Regions from separate parts of the Homo sapiens genome. Here regions 1, 2, 3 and 4 are each linked to region 5. The links are contacts of gene promoters, found by promoter capture Hi-C in blood cells and fetal thymus (Javierre and others, 2016). All regions are on one chromosome and are shown on one strand. Each heading gives the region's core, a stretch centred on a gene start or on the middle of the fragment in contact. The rest is flanking DNA. Distances are from core to core; before and after follow the strand shown.

Region 1 (2,700 bases), core at 73-2,572, 860 kb after region 5:
TGCCAGGCAGGATTCACAGTGGTTTGTGATTCTCCCCTGACTCCAAGACTCCAAGCCTAATCCCCGCCCCTGACCAGCTTCTCCTCTCTGAAGGGGAATGGACCCCCCAGCTGGTTGCCGGCCCAAGTGTGCAGAGCCGCGGTTGCGCGCTGGGTGGAGGGGTCCCCCAAGCTCCGGTGCTGGTGGGGCCCGAGGATGCTGTGTCCTTGCGGGCCTCCCTAGCGCTACGAGGACACCTCCAGGCGGCCCGCGGGGACAACAACGGCATTGCGGCCTACCACCTAAAGCTCCTGGGAGGACAACGGGGTTGCAGTCTAGTCGACTGTTCAGGGTGTCCCGGACTCCGGGCTTTAACAGTCGGTAAGGACCCAAACACCGCTGTCCACTGCCCCGACTCCCACCCGCAGAGGGCGCGACCAACCCAGCTCCTAGAGCCACACGCTGCCTCTGGGGGCTTGGCGCCCACACTCTCTCTGCTTGTCTTCCCCTGGCCCGAGAAGCCTGTCCAACCGGCCGAGAGCCATTTCCCTACGGGGTCTCGTCCCTCTGCACGTGCCCAGGGCTGGGACCCCAGACACAGACCTGCCCCGGACGAGGGAACGCACGGAGCTTCCCAAGATGGTTTGAATCAGTAACTGACGGCAAAAGCACGCTTGTGCCCGGCGTCTCTCCCAGTGCCCCGTGCCCTTGGGACCCAAAGTCCGAACCGGTAGCCGGGCGCGGTGGCTCACGCCTGGAATCCCAACACTTTGGGAGGCTGAGAATCGTTTGAGCCCAGGAGTTCGAGCCATTCTGGGCAACATAGGGAGACCCATCTCTGCAAATAATAATAATAATAAATAAATAAATAAATAAATAAATAAATAAATAAATAGCGGGCGCGGTTGCGCGCGTCTGTGGTTCCAGCTACTAGGGGAGTTGAGGTGGGAGGATCGCTTGGGCCCAGGAGTTCGAGGCTGCAGTGAGCCAAGATCGCGCCACTGCACTCCAGCCTGGGCGACAGCGAGACCCCGTCACACACAAAAAAACCCCTAGCTTCCTCTTCTCCCAGAATGCAGGAGTTAGGTGAGGACCCTCTGTTCCCTCCAACCCAAGACCTAGGAGTCCGAACACATAACGCCCTCCAGGCGGTGCCAGGATCCCCAGAACTGCTGTCCCCTCAAGAACACACGTCCCCTACGTGGGAGGCCGCGACCAGCGACTCCGCCCACTTCTCCCAGCCGGCTGTTACGTAACTGCAACGACAGCCAGTCAGACGCGGCAGCGCCGGATGGCGGGAGGCGGGAGTTGGAGGCCAAGGGAAGCGCTGGGCGGAAGTGGCTGTGGCTTTGCCCTTTGGCCTTTGCTGGCTGTGTGGCGGCTCCGCGGTTCGCAGGTCGTTCGCTGAGCGTCTCTGCTTAGCCGCGGTCATGAGCCGGCACAGCCGGCTGCAGAGGCAGGTTCTGAGCCTGTACCGCGATCTGCTGCGCGCCGGGCGTGGGAAGCCGGGCGCCGAGGCGCGAGTGCGGGCAGAGTTCCGGCAGCATGCGGGCCTGCCGCGGTCCGACGTGCTGCGCATCGAGTACCTGTACCGCCGCGGGCGGCGCCAGCTGCAGCTGCTACGCTCGGGCCACGCCACCGCCATGGGCGCCTTCGTACGCCCGCGGGCCCCGACCGGGGAGCCTGGCGGCGTGGGTTGCCAGCCTGACGACGGCGACAGTCCAAGGAACCCCCACGACAGCACGGGGGCACCGGAGACCCGCCCCGACGGACGGTGACAGGCGAAGAGCCGAACTCGCTCGATGGCGTGGTGGAGCCAGGAGGCTCGCCTGACTGCATGGGGGGACTGGGGAACCCGCCTAAGGTGAGAGGTCTTAAGAGACTAGCTTGACGAATTGGGGATGTCAGAGACTCCTCCTTGGCGACGCAGGGGGCCTAGAGAGCCCCGTGATGGACGGCAAGGGAGGCCCGCCTTTTCCGATGCTTGGAGACAGGTCGGTGCTCCTCCCCCATGAGGGCTTGGGGCGGCCTGGGACGCTGGCGGGCTGGACAGTGTCAAGCCAAGAGCTACTTGCCCGAAGGTACGGGGAGCCAGGACGACCCCCGGTGGACAGGGAGAGCCTGAGACGCCCTTCTCTTGACCCCTGAGAACATACCCACTTCTGGCTCCTCAAGGAGTCTCCCCTCTCCTGTATTTAACTCTGAGAAGTGCAGACTTTTTGCTGAGAACGTTTTGGGAAGGTGCCCTGATGAGCGGTGAGAAGCCCGGAATCCCCTTCTGGAAAACTTTCCCCCATTAATTGTGACAAGCCAGGACCATGAGGAAGGGGTAGGGGTCTATCACCCTGGTTGATCAACTGAAGACCCCCAAAGGCCCCTACTTGATGGTTTTGAGGGGCAACATTGACTCATTTGCCCCTTCCCTCTCGGAATGTTGGACAAAGGGAATAAAATTGGGGATATGTCTACTTCCCTGTTGGTGGTCTTAAAGCTTTTATATATTTCAGGATTTTTGAAACACCCCCAGCCCCCCTGCCACCACACACACACGCACACAGACACCTGGAAGGGACCATCTGGGAGGTGATAGGTGTGGGGATCTGACTCCTTCCGGAGCCCTGTAGACTGGCACATTGATTGAAGCGGCATAGTTTTCTCCCCTGGGCAGATCTGTGGAGGGGGCTCATCCTGGCTTAACCCCCAAAGATACCCCAGTTGGCT
Region 2 (2,700 bases), core at 1-2,500, 710 kb after region 5:
ACCCATACCCAGGATGGAGAGGATCACTCTGGGAGACACGAGCTCGGGCCCCATCTCAGAGCGGCCGACCTGGCACTCATACTCCGCGTCATCGCTGAGGTCACAGGCCTCGATGTGCAGGTGGAATTCACCTGCAGGGGGAGCCGGAAGTCAGGGCCGCAGCTTCCGCTGGTGGCTGAGGGTCTCAGGCTCTGATCCCTTACCTCTAGCAGGGTCCCCTTCCAGGCGGTACCTCGGGAAGCCTGGGATCCTGGGGTCGGGGCCCAGGAGCAGCCCATCTTTGGCCCATTGCACCGCACTGCCAGGGGTGCTGACCCCACAACGCAGCTCCACTGAGGCCCCCTCCACCACCGTCAGGTTTTCAGGCAGGGCCCAGAAGCCCCGGGGAACGGAGGCAGGAATCGCCAACTGCGCCAGGCCTGAGGACACAGCGCGGTGCAAGGAAAGGGCAGAGGGTTTGTCTAGGGAAGGTAAGTGGGAAATGGGGGCCACTTGGCGCTGGGTACAAGGCTGGGATCCCACTCACCTTCAGTCAGCAGCCCCAGGAGCAGGAGAGAAGCCCTGAGCGTCGTCCCCAGGGCCATCACAGGTCCCCCTACTGTGACCCCCACAGCGCCCGCTGCCAGCCACCTGCGTCTGTCTGGCTTTCTCTGGGTCCCTCTCTGTGTGTCTCTGCCACCTGCTTTTCTTTTTTATCTCTTTCCGTTACTCTCCTCCCTTTCTCGTTTTCCTCTTCCCCTCTTCCCTGTGAGTATCTCTCTCTGTCTTGCTCTCAGTCTCAATCTCTGAGTCTCTTTCTCTGTCTCTTTAAAAAAACTTTTTTTTCTTTTTTCTTTTTTTTTTCTTTTTTTTTTTTTTAGAGACGGGGTCTCACTATGTTGGCCAGGTTGATCTCAGACTCTTTCCTTCAAGCCATCCTCCCACCTTGGCCTCCCCAAGTGTTGGGATTACAGGCGTGAGCCACTGCGCCCAGTCTCTTTATCTTTCCATCTTTCTCTCCTTGTCTAAGCCGTTCTCTCTCCTTTTGTCTCTGTCTCTTCCTCTCTCTCTGTCTCTCTCTCTCTCTCTCTCTCAATCTCTATCTTCTCTCCTGCCACCCCTCACTCCTGCTCCTTGTCTCACTACTCACAGCCTTTCAAGAAGGACCTGCAGCCCAGAGTCCAGCAGGCCAGGAGCCTAGGAGAGCGATGAGGCTGATGCAGGCACTGGCAGAGTCAGCCCTGCTCTCTGACCCAGCTTGAGCTCATTCTCACAGTGCAACCTCCCCCAGGTACCTTCCAGAGCCCCCAGCTCTGGCCTCTGCCCAGCAGGCTCCTCCCAGCTGGCCCAGCTGGAGCATAAAATCCCCTGTCAGCACATGCCAGGCGCGTTCCTCGGTGCCTCCCCAGCCTCCGTGACCCCAGGGCCTGGCTTAGGCTGGGAAGATGGGAGAAGTCAGATCAAGGTGGTCTCCCAGCTCAGCAGGGGAGCAGCCAGCTGGGCCCCCAGCTCTTCCTTGCCCTGATACATGACCTTGGCAAGTCTCTTTCTTTCTTTCTTTCTTTTCTTGAGATAGTCTTGCTCTGTTGCTCAGGCTGGAGTGCAGTGGCATCTCGGCTCACTGCAACTTCCACCTCCCATGGCTTGAACCTCCCAGGTTCAAGTAATTCTCCCACCTCTGTCTCCCAAGTAGCTGGTGCTACAGGTATATAGCACCATGCCTGGCTAATTTTTGTATTTTTACTAGAGACGGGGTTTCATCATGTTGGCCACGCTGGTCTCGAACTCCTGACCTCAGGTGATCCATCTGCCTCAGCCTCCCAAAATGCTGGGATTACAGACATGAGCCACCGCACCTGGCCTCCCTTCCTTTTTTAGTAGACATCAGTGCCTAAATGATGTCAGGGATCTCTGCTGGGGAGGATGCAAGAGTGAGTGTGACAGGCTGGGAGAGTGTGGGAGAGAGGGAAGATATGCATGTGTGTACGTGGGTGTGAGAGTGGGGAAGGTTAGAGTGAACTGCGATCTGTAATAAGCATGTGGAGAGCGTGTGTGTGACAGTGTCTTACGTGGGAGTGCACAGGGTGTGGGCGGGAGTAAAAGGCAGAGTCCAATTCCACCGGCCCCCAGTGTGGGTGCAGTGTGAGCCCAAAGTGGGCGCCCTTTGGCAAGGACTGCATGAGCTTTCTTCTCCCTCTTTTTCTTGCCCTCTCTCCCATCTCTTCTTTCCTTCTCCATGTCTCTCTCTCTCCCTCCCTCTATCTATCTTGATTTATCTTTCTTTCTTTTGAGATGGAATCTTGCTCTGTTGCCCAGGCTGGAGGGCAGTGGCATGATCTTGGTTCATTGCAGCCTCAACTTCCTGGGCTCAGGTGATCCTCCTGCCTCAGCCTCCTGAATAGCTGGGACTACAGGTGCACACCACCACTCCAGCTAATTTTTTAAAATTTGTTTGTAGAGACAGGGTCTTTCTCTATTGCCCAGGCTGGAGTGCAGTGGTGTGATCATGGCTCATTGAAGCCTCAAACCTCCTAGGCTCAAGTGTTCTTTCTGCCTCAGCCTCCTGAGTAGCTGGGACTACAGGCCCGCATCACCACTCTGGCTATTTTTTTTTTTTTTTTTTTTTTTTTGAGAGGGAGTCTTGCTCTGTCACCCAGGCTGGAGTGCAATGGTGCGATGTTGGCTCACTGTAACCTCCGCCTCCCAGGTCCAAGCGATTCT
Region 3 (2,700 bases), core at 201-2,700, 800 kb after region 5:
CCTGAGGCCAAGAGTTCAAGACCAGCCTGGGCAGCATATTGAGACCCTGTCTCTACAAGAAATTTTAAAAATTAGCTGGATATGGCGATGCATGCCTGTAGTCTCAGTTACTCTGGAGCCTGAGGTGGGAGGATTGCTTGAGCCCAGGAATTTGAGGTTGCAGTCAATTATGATTGCACCAATGTACTGGGTGACAAAGCAAGACCCTGTCTCAAAAAAAAAAGTATGGTCTTTGAAAAGTCACATTAGCATCACCTGGGTACTCGTTAAAAATGCAAATGTTTGGGTCCCACCTCAGACCCACTGAACCAGAAACTCTGAGGTTGGGACCTGGAGATCTATGGTGCCCCCGGGTGATCCTGGTGGGCTGCACTGCAAGGACACCTGGCCTGGCTCCTGCAAGGCAAGGCATCCCTCTCTGCTTTTCTTTCTTTCTTTCTTTCTTTTAAAGACAGAGTCTCACTCTGTCACCCAGGCTGGAGTGCAATGGCTGGATCTCAGATCACTACAATCTCCACCTCCCGGGTTCAAGCAATTCTCTTGCCTCAGCCTCCCGAGTAGCTGGGATTACGGGCGTCCGCCACCACACCCGGCTAATTTTTGTATTTTTAGTAGAGACGGGGTTTCTCCATGTTGGCCAGGCTGGTCTCCAACGCCTGATCTCAAAAGATCCGCCCGCCTTGGCCTCCCAACGAGCCGGGATTACAGGCGTGAGCCACCGCCCCCGGCTGTCAGTGTGTCTTGAGGTCTTTCCCTAATCCCAGATGGCACAAGTTTTCCCTCTTGCAGGCAGAGAAAGGAGCCTTGGGAAGGAGCCCCTCTGGCCTGAAAGATCAAGCCTATTGCTGGGCATGGCCAGGTAAGGAAACTCCAACCGTGGAAAGGACATTCCAGGGAGGTGGTGCTGAGATAAGGGGGGCAGAAAGAGACAGGTTTGGGGGGCCAGTGGCTCTGGAATGAAGCGCTACACTCAAGGCTAGGAATAGTTACTGAATGCACATACACACATACCATTCTCACAGCCCAGGTGCTGCGTCTTAGAGCGTGTGAGTGTGTATGTGTGTGTCTGTGTGTGCGCGCGCACGCACGTCTCTATCTCTGTTTCTGTCTTTCTCTGACTTGTCCTTATCTCTTGTCTCTCCATCACTCTCTGTGTCTCGCTGTCTCTGTGCATTTCCATGTCTCGAATATGTGTGTGTTTCAATCTGTCTCTCTGCCTCTTTCCATTTTCTCCTCTCTATCCATCAATCTAAGCCTGCCCATCTTTTTGTCTGCCTTTCTGTATCTCCGTTCTTCTCTGTCTCTCTGTCTCAGTCTCTCTGTATCCAGGGATTCTCTTTCCCAGCAGCGCCAGTGCGACTCCATGGGAGGTGGGGCCGGGGCGCGTCTTTGAGAGAAGGGGCGGGTGCCTACGCCTTTAAGCGCGGGTGCGCGCGGAGCCTGCGCCTTTAAGCGCCGGTGCGCGCGCTGCCCTGGGTTGCCGGCGAGGAGGCCGCGGGAGCGCCTGGACCCGGCCCGCCCAGCCCGGCCCCCGCCCGGCCCCCGCCTCGGCCCCGGCGGGGGAGGGGTCTCTGAGCGCGGCCCCTCCCCCCTGCGCCCCCGCCTGCGCTGCGGTGCCCCCATCCCGCGTGTCCCAGTCTGTCTGACCGTCCCTCCGCTCCCAGGCCTCGCCCCACCCGGCCCTGGGGCTGCCCGGTCGCCCCCCTCCCCACCGCAGCCGGTCCCCTCCCTCCCAGTCAGCCTCCGCCGCAGCCCAGGAAGCCAGCCGGGACGCCGCCGCCCCGGACCCCGCGCCCTAACCTCCACCTCGGGGGCCTGCACCCCCAGATTGAATCGGGAATTCCGGAAACCCGAGCCTGGAACCCTGATCTGGGACCAGCACCCCGAGATCCGGCCGTGGAACCCCAAGATCTGGAGCCTGAACCCCAGTATATGGGGCTGGAATCTCAACATCGGTCACTGGGACCTCAATATTTGGAGCCGGAACCCCACAATTTGGAACACAGACCCCAATATTTGGAGCAGAACCCCAAGATTTGACATCTAAAACCTCAAGCCTGGAGCTGAACTCTGAATTCTGGGCCTGGGACCTTGAAATCTGGGACTGGATTTCCAGTACTGTACCCTGGAACCCACTCTTGGGGACCTGAACCCTGGGATTCAGGCCTCAAATTCCAAGATCTGGACTGTGGGATTCCAAGGGGCCTGAACCCGAGTTTGGGCCTGAAGTCCTTGCTGCAGACCTGAGTGCTTAAATCTGGGGCTTGAGACCTCCCAATCTTGACTCAGCACCCCAATATCTGAATGCAGAACCCCGGGATCGGATCTCAGACTCTAAACCCCACCGTTTGGCTGCTTAGCATCCCAAGACTGGACCTGGGAGACCCTGACCCTGAACAACCCAAACTGGACCCGTAAAACTGGACCCTAGAGGCCCAATATTTAGGGGTCTGGAACCCCGAGTATTAAGGTCTGGAGACTCCGTTGCCACAGATTTGAGCCGAGTCAGGACACAGTCCCTCTACAGAAGCCTTGGGGACAGGAAAAGCATGACCAGATGCTCCCTCCAGAGCCCTGACCTCTGACTCCCCTGGAGCTAGGACTCTGCTCCCTGGGGCTGCTTCTAGCTCAGGTAAGGCTGCTGAAACCTCAAGGTGGGGACGGGCTGGGAGGAGCATTGTGGCTGCGGGTTACGGTACC
Region 4 (2,700 bases), core at 60-2,559, 530 kb after region 5:
AAGCACATTGTTTTAAAGCAGTCAGGAGGTTGTGCAATGTCATCCATCTCCCAGCAGCAGAGTTCACACATCCACACGCAACCTCCTGCTGCTTTATAGATGAAGGTGCCAGGTGAGGACATGAAAAGAATTTGCATTAAACATCAACTGACAAGCTTTTTTTTTTCTCCTGCCCTCTGTGCCGTTGGCACAACCCACCAAATTCAATCAAGTTCTTCTATATCTTCCAATACCCAGTCTGTGTCAAATGTCTCTGATTATCTGAGAACATCGTTTTATGTTGTTTGTTTTATTTTAAGAGACAGGGTCTCACTCTGTTGCCCAGGCTGGAGTGTAATGGCACAATCTCGGCTCATTGCAACCTCTGCCTCCTGGGTTCAAGCTATTCTCCTATCTCATCCTCCTGAGTAGCTGGGATTACAGGCACCCATCACCATGCCCAGCTAATTTTTGTATTTTTGCATTTTTAGTAGATGGGGTTTCACCATATTGGTCAGGCTGGTCTTGAACTCCTGACCTCAGGTGATCCACCCGTCTCAACCTCCCAAAGTGTTGGGATTACAGGCGTAAGCCACTGCACCCACCCTTGTTTGTTTTGTTTTAAGAGACAGGGTTTTGCTCTGTTGCCCAGGCAGGAATGCAGTGGTGCGATCATAGCTCGCTGAGGCCTCCAACTACTGGGCTCAAACGATCCTCCAACCTCAGCCTCCCAAATAGCTAGGACTAACACTACCACTAGTAGTAACTATGCTTAACTAATTTTTTTATTTTTATTTTTTGTAGCGACGGGGTCTCACTGTGTTGCCCAGGCTGATCTTGAACTCCAGGGTTCAAGCAATCTTCCCATCTCAGCCTCCCAAAGTGCTGGGATTACAGGTGTGAGCCACCAATGCCCAGCCCTAATTTTTGTATTTTTAGTAGAGAAGGGGTTTCACCATGTTGGCCAGGCTGGTCTCGAACTCCTGACTCAGGTGATCGCCCCCTCGGCCTCCCAAAGTGCTGGGATTATAGGCGTGAGCCACCACGCCTCGCCTGTCTCAAAAATAAATTAATTAAATTAAATATTTCAAAATACAGAAAAGTTGGAAGACAATACAGCGAACACCTGAACACCCACCACATATTATAGATGCTGCTAGTCACACTGCCCCAAACTTTTTTAAAACTTGCATTTCCCCAGTGATGCTTCCCTGACGGGGTGTGGCTTCACGGGCTCTGCCCGACGGGCCGTCCTCCCTCTGTCTCCCCAGTACCTGGTGCTCATGCTCATCGTCTACATCTTCGAGTGCGCCTCCTGCATCACGTCCTACACCCACCGTGACTACGTGAGCCCGGCGAGGCCTGGGGAGGGGCCTGACCTGCATGGGAGGGGCGAGGGTCCCGGCGCGGCGGGGCGGAGGTCGTCCTCTCTCCCCACCCAGCCCTGCCGGCCCTTGTTCTTCCCTGTTCTCCTCAGATGGTGTCCAACCCATCCCTGATCACCAAGCAGATGCTGACCTTCTACAGCGCGGACACCGACCAGGGCCAGGAGCTGACCCGCCTCTGGGACCGCGTCATGATTGAGGTGGGCGGGGTGGACCGGGTGCTGGGAGGGCCCTGGGCTCCGTCCACAGAGGCCGATAGAGCTCCCGATGTGCCAGCTTTTAGAGGAGTGAGTGCCTTAAAGACATCCGCTCATGAGATCTCTAGGAGAGCAGGGCTGCGGTCATCACCGTTCTGCGGATGAGTAAACAGGCCCAGAAAGGGAAAGTCCCTTGCCCGAGGCCACACAGTCGGTAAGTGGTGGGAGCTGGGATTGGAACCCGGCAGCCTAGCTCCTGACCTCCCTGCTCTTAGCCTACACATACTACCTCAACAGAAATGTTGATAATAACAATGATAGTAACAGCACCATTCACTGAGCTAGGTTTCACACTGTTCAAAGGACTTTTATTTTTATATTTTGAGATGGGGTCTTGCTCTGTTGCCCAGGCTGGAGTGATCATAGCTCACTGCAACCTCCAACTCCTGGGCTCAAGTGATCCTCCCGCCTCAGCTTCCCGAGTAGCTGGGAATACAGGTGCGCCCCACCACACCCGGCTAAGTTTTTTAAATTATCTTTTGTGGAGATGGGGGTCTTGCTCTATTGCCCAGGCTGGTCTGGAACTCCTGGGCTCAGGATTGGAGCGATTCTCCCACCTCCGCCTCTCAAAGTGCCGAGATCACAGGCATGAGCCACGAGTGCCTGGCCTCAAAGCACATTTTTTTTTTTCTTTTTATCTTTTTTTTTTTTTTTTTTTTTTTGAGACAGAGTCTTGCTCTGTCGCCCAGGCTGGAATGCAGTGGCGCGATCTCGGCTCACTGCAAGCTCCGCCTCCCGGGTTCACGCTATTCTCCTGCCTCAGCCTCCCGAATAGCTGGGACTACAGGCGCCTGCCACCGCGCCCAGCTGATTTTTTGTATTTTTAGTAGAGATGGGTGTTAGCCAGGATGGTCTTGATCTCCTGACCTTGTGATCCACCTGCCTCGGCCTCCCAAAGTGCTGGGATTACAGGCTTGAGCCACCGTGCCCAGCCTTTCAAAGCACTTTTAAAGCTTTTTTAATCCTCACGACCACTCCATAAGGGAGATCGGCCTTTTAGTGATGAGGAGACCAAAGCAAGAGGTTGAATATCTTGCATGAGGTCACACACCTGGTAGGTCACAGAACTGGAAGGATTC
Region 5 (2,700 bases), core at 120-2,619:
TGTTTCTGCTTTTGTGGGTATGTGTGAGAGCGGCGGGTTGTCCTTGATGGTGTTTCTGCTTGTGTATCTGTGCCCATGGAAATCTGTCTGTGTGTACACAAGCTTGTTGGCCTTCCTATCTTTGGGACCATGTAGGAGTGCTGGCTGCATGTCTGTACCTTTGGGGTTTTTTTGTTTTGTTTTTGTTTTTGAGACAGAGTCTCGCTCTGTTGCCCAGGCTAGAGTGCAGTGGCATGATCTCAGCTCACTGCAAGCTCTGCCTCCCGGGCTCAAGTGACTCTCCTGCCTCAGCCTCCGGAGTAGCCGTGATTACAGGCGCACGCCACCACACCCAGCTAATTTTTGTATATTTTTTTAGTAGAGACGAGCTCTCGTCGGGTTGGCCAGGCTGGTGTTGAACTCCTGGCCTCAAGTGATCCTCCCGCCTTGGCCTCCCAAAGTGCTGGGAGTACAGGTGTGAGCCACCGTACCTGGCCATGTTTGGCCATGCATCTTAGAATGCATTTATGTGCGGTGTGCACATACTTGTGTGTTTCTGTATGGCCATTTGTGGGTGGGTCTTCACATAAACATGCATTTTTGTGGCCAGTTTGTGAGTGTAGATGGTGATGTGGCTATGTCTTTGACTGTATCTCTGTGTGGCCATCCATCTACATGAGCGTGCGTGGGTCTGTGTAGACATAAATGTGCTTGTTCTGGTATTTTGTGACTGGCATAAAAGGTGTTGGCTGTGTGTCCGGGTCTTTGGGTTTCTCTATCAGTGTGTCATTCTGTGTGTGTCTGCTTCTATGGATGTACATACATACATGGTTTTGTCTGGTTTTGTACCTGTATATCTGGGTCTTTGGGATTGTGTGTGGGTGTGTGTGTGTGGTGCATTTCTGGGGATCTCACCACAGCAGATAGCGCACATGCGCGCGCACACACACACACACACACACACCTCCCTCCCGTCCTCTAAAACAGCCCTGTTAAGGACCTCACGGAGCACTGGGATCGGGGGTCAGTGGGCTCCTGGGCAGTCAGGCTGGGTGACCTTCGGCCCTGGCTGGACCCAGTTCCCAGGGGGCAGCCGCCTCAGCCCAAAAGCTCTTGGAGGCGTGTGTGTTTGTGTGTGTGTGTGTTCACAACCCTGTCCTCCACAATCCTCCTAGCCTCTCCAGCCTGCCTGCTGGCTGCCTGCTGCTGCTCTCTCTGAACTGAGAGAGTTAACCAAGCGGGCCAGGGCAGTCTGGGCTGGGGGCCGCCCCCTGGCCCCCCTCCAGCCCCAGCTCCAGTTTCAGCTGCTGGTTGGGGAGGGCATGGGTGGGGTGGGGCTGGGAGGGGAGGCTGCTGGGGGCGGCGCGTCCAGCTCTGGGCCAGGGGGTCCAAAGTGCTCAGCCCCCGGGGCACAGCAGGACGTTTGGGGGCCTTCTTTCAGCAGGGGACAGCCCGATTGGGGTGAGCGTCCCCCACTCCTTCCCTCCAGGCCTCACCCCTGGTCTGGCTGGGCCGCCTATTTTGGGAGCAGGAGTGGCCAGCCCGAGGCTTCCCAGGCAGGCCAACCCAAGAGGGAGGGAGTGTGGTTGAGGCAGTGGGTTCTGCAGGGTGGGATGTGGGTGACTCCTCCCTGCCCTGCTGGTGCGTGTGCACCCTGGCAGGGTGTGGAGTTGGGACACACACGTGTGTAGGGCTGGTTGCGTCACTGCGTGGGGGCACCGGAGGCCCAGAGGAGGAGTATTGGATGCCTGACGGTGTTTACACCCCACGTCCTGCTCCAACCAGCAGTTTGGGGAGAGGTTGTTGTTCATGTCCATTCCGGCCCCACTGTGTGTGTGTGTGTGTGTGTGTGTGTGTGTGTGTGTGTGTATCCCTGCCCCAGCATGTGTTTTCTATCTCTAAGGCCCACTGGGCTGGGCCTCATGTCACTTGCCTGACATCCGATTGTGAAAGATGTCACCCAGAGGCGGGCAGAGGGGCTGTCTTTTCCTTTTCTCGTTGCTGCCCAGGGAGGAGACGGGGTGACCTTTCCCACAGGGGCAGCCTGTGGCGATGTGGCAGCTGGGCCTCACCCCGGCAGGGCTGTGCGTGACCCCCTGAGTGGGGGAAGGCAGGCTGTTGCCATGGTGGCCTGAGCGAGCAGAATTCCTCCAGGGTGAAGTGGGAGATATTTATACCCGGGGTCAGGCCGCGAGCGGGCGGGCGGAGAGGGCAGGGAGCTGGGATTTCGCGGGGCACAGTGAGGCCGGGCATGTAGGCAGGTGGGACTTGGGCGTGCCCTGCTGTCTCCTGCTCTGTGTTTGTGTGAGGCAGCGCCTCCTCTGCCCTGCCAGGGTAGGTCTGGGAATCGGGGGCCTGCTGCGGGAGGTGGAGGCCCAAGGGAGGCCCCCCGGGGACTGTGTGTCTCACCCCCGTCCCTGCTACGTTGTGTTGTTGTGTGATCCCATCGTGGAGGTTGTTTTGGTGACACTGTGTCCCCACGAAGCTGGGGATACCCGTTTCTCTAGCTTGGAGCCACCAAGATAGAGGACAAACACTTCTGTGATTCAGTCCCCAGACTGTCTCTGACTTAATCCCTTGGGTTCAAGCCCTATGTGGGAGAGCAAGGGCACACACTGCCTAATCCGTGGTGTCCCCCCCAGGACAATGGCGTCTCTTGGCCACATCTTGGTTTTCTGTGTGGGTCTCCTCACCATGGCCAAGGCAGGTGAGTGCAGGGGA

The links. The method cuts DNA at HindIII sites, captures the fragments that hold promoters and counts their contacts. A CHiCAGO score of 5 or more calls a contact.
Region 1: the fragment with the promoter of SDHAF1 here is called in contact with the fragment with the promoter of FXYD1 in region 5 in 9 of 17 cell types (neutrophils, activated CD4 T cells, total B cells and 6 more); the score reaches 14.9 in neutrophils.
Region 2: a contact is called between the fragment with the promoter of NPHS1 here and the fragment with the promoter of FXYD1 in region 5, in 2 of 17 cell types (activated CD4 T cells and monocytes). The highest score is 6.3, in activated CD4 T cells.
Region 3: a contact is called between the fragment with the promoter of LRFN3 here and the fragment with the promoter of FXYD1 in region 5, in 3 of 17 cell types (neutrophils, erythroblasts and monocytes). The highest score is 6.9, in neutrophils.
Region 4: a contact is called between the fragment with the promoter of UPK1A-AS1 here and the fragment with the promoter of FXYD1 in region 5, in 2 of 17 cell types (neutrophils and erythroblasts). The highest score is 9.8, in neutrophils.

What each region holds. Positions count from the first base shown.
Region 1 is chr19:35,993,866-35,996,565 of GRCh38, forward strand. SDHAF1 (succinate dehydrogenase complex assembly factor 1) reads left to right here and starts at 1,323. Exons shown (of 1, transcript NM_001042631.3): 1 at 1,323-2,447. The coding sequence starts at 1,410. The coding sequence ends at 1,757. RefSeq lists enhancers at 286-785, 1,120-1,169, 1,430-1,509 and silencers at 1,570-1,629, 1,660-1,779. The HindIII fragment of the contact is 4,511 bases long and covers 1-2,468 here.
Region 2 is chr19:35,851,254-35,853,953 of GRCh38, forward strand. It overlaps NPHS1 (NPHS1 adhesion molecule, nephrin), which reads right to left and starts at 1,251. Exons shown (of 29, transcript NM_004646.4): 1 at 527-1,251; 2 at 204-419; 3 at 9-131. The coding sequence starts at 584. It also overlaps a transcript of KIRREL2 not described here. RefSeq lists enhancers at 1-537, 538-1,179. The HindIII fragment of the contact is 3,857 bases long and covers 1-2,700 here.
Region 3 is chr19:35,934,924-35,937,623 of GRCh38, forward strand. LRFN3 (leucine rich repeat and fibronectin type III domain containing 3) reads left to right here and starts at 1,451. Exons shown (of 3, transcript NM_024509.2): 1 at 1,451-2,632. The HindIII fragment of the contact is 21,793 bases long and covers 1-2,700 here.
Region 4 is chr19:35,671,982-35,674,681 of GRCh38, forward strand. It overlaps UPK1A-AS1 (UPK1A antisense RNA 1), which reads right to left and starts at 1,310. Exons shown (of 2, transcript NR_046420.1): 1 at 1,254-1,310. UPK1A (uroplakin 1A) reads left to right here. Exons shown (of 8, transcript NM_007000.4): 4 at 1,251-1,325; 5 at 1,457-1,564. The HindIII fragment of the contact is 2,419 bases long and covers 154-2,572 here.
Region 5 is chr19:35,137,455-35,140,154 of GRCh38, forward strand. It overlaps FXYD1 (FXYD domain containing ion transport regulator 1), which reads left to right and starts at 1,370. Exons shown (of 8, transcript NM_021902.4): 1 at 1,370-1,440; 2 at 2,622-2,686. The coding sequence starts at 2,626. The HindIII fragment of the contact is 25,239 bases long and covers 101-2,700 here.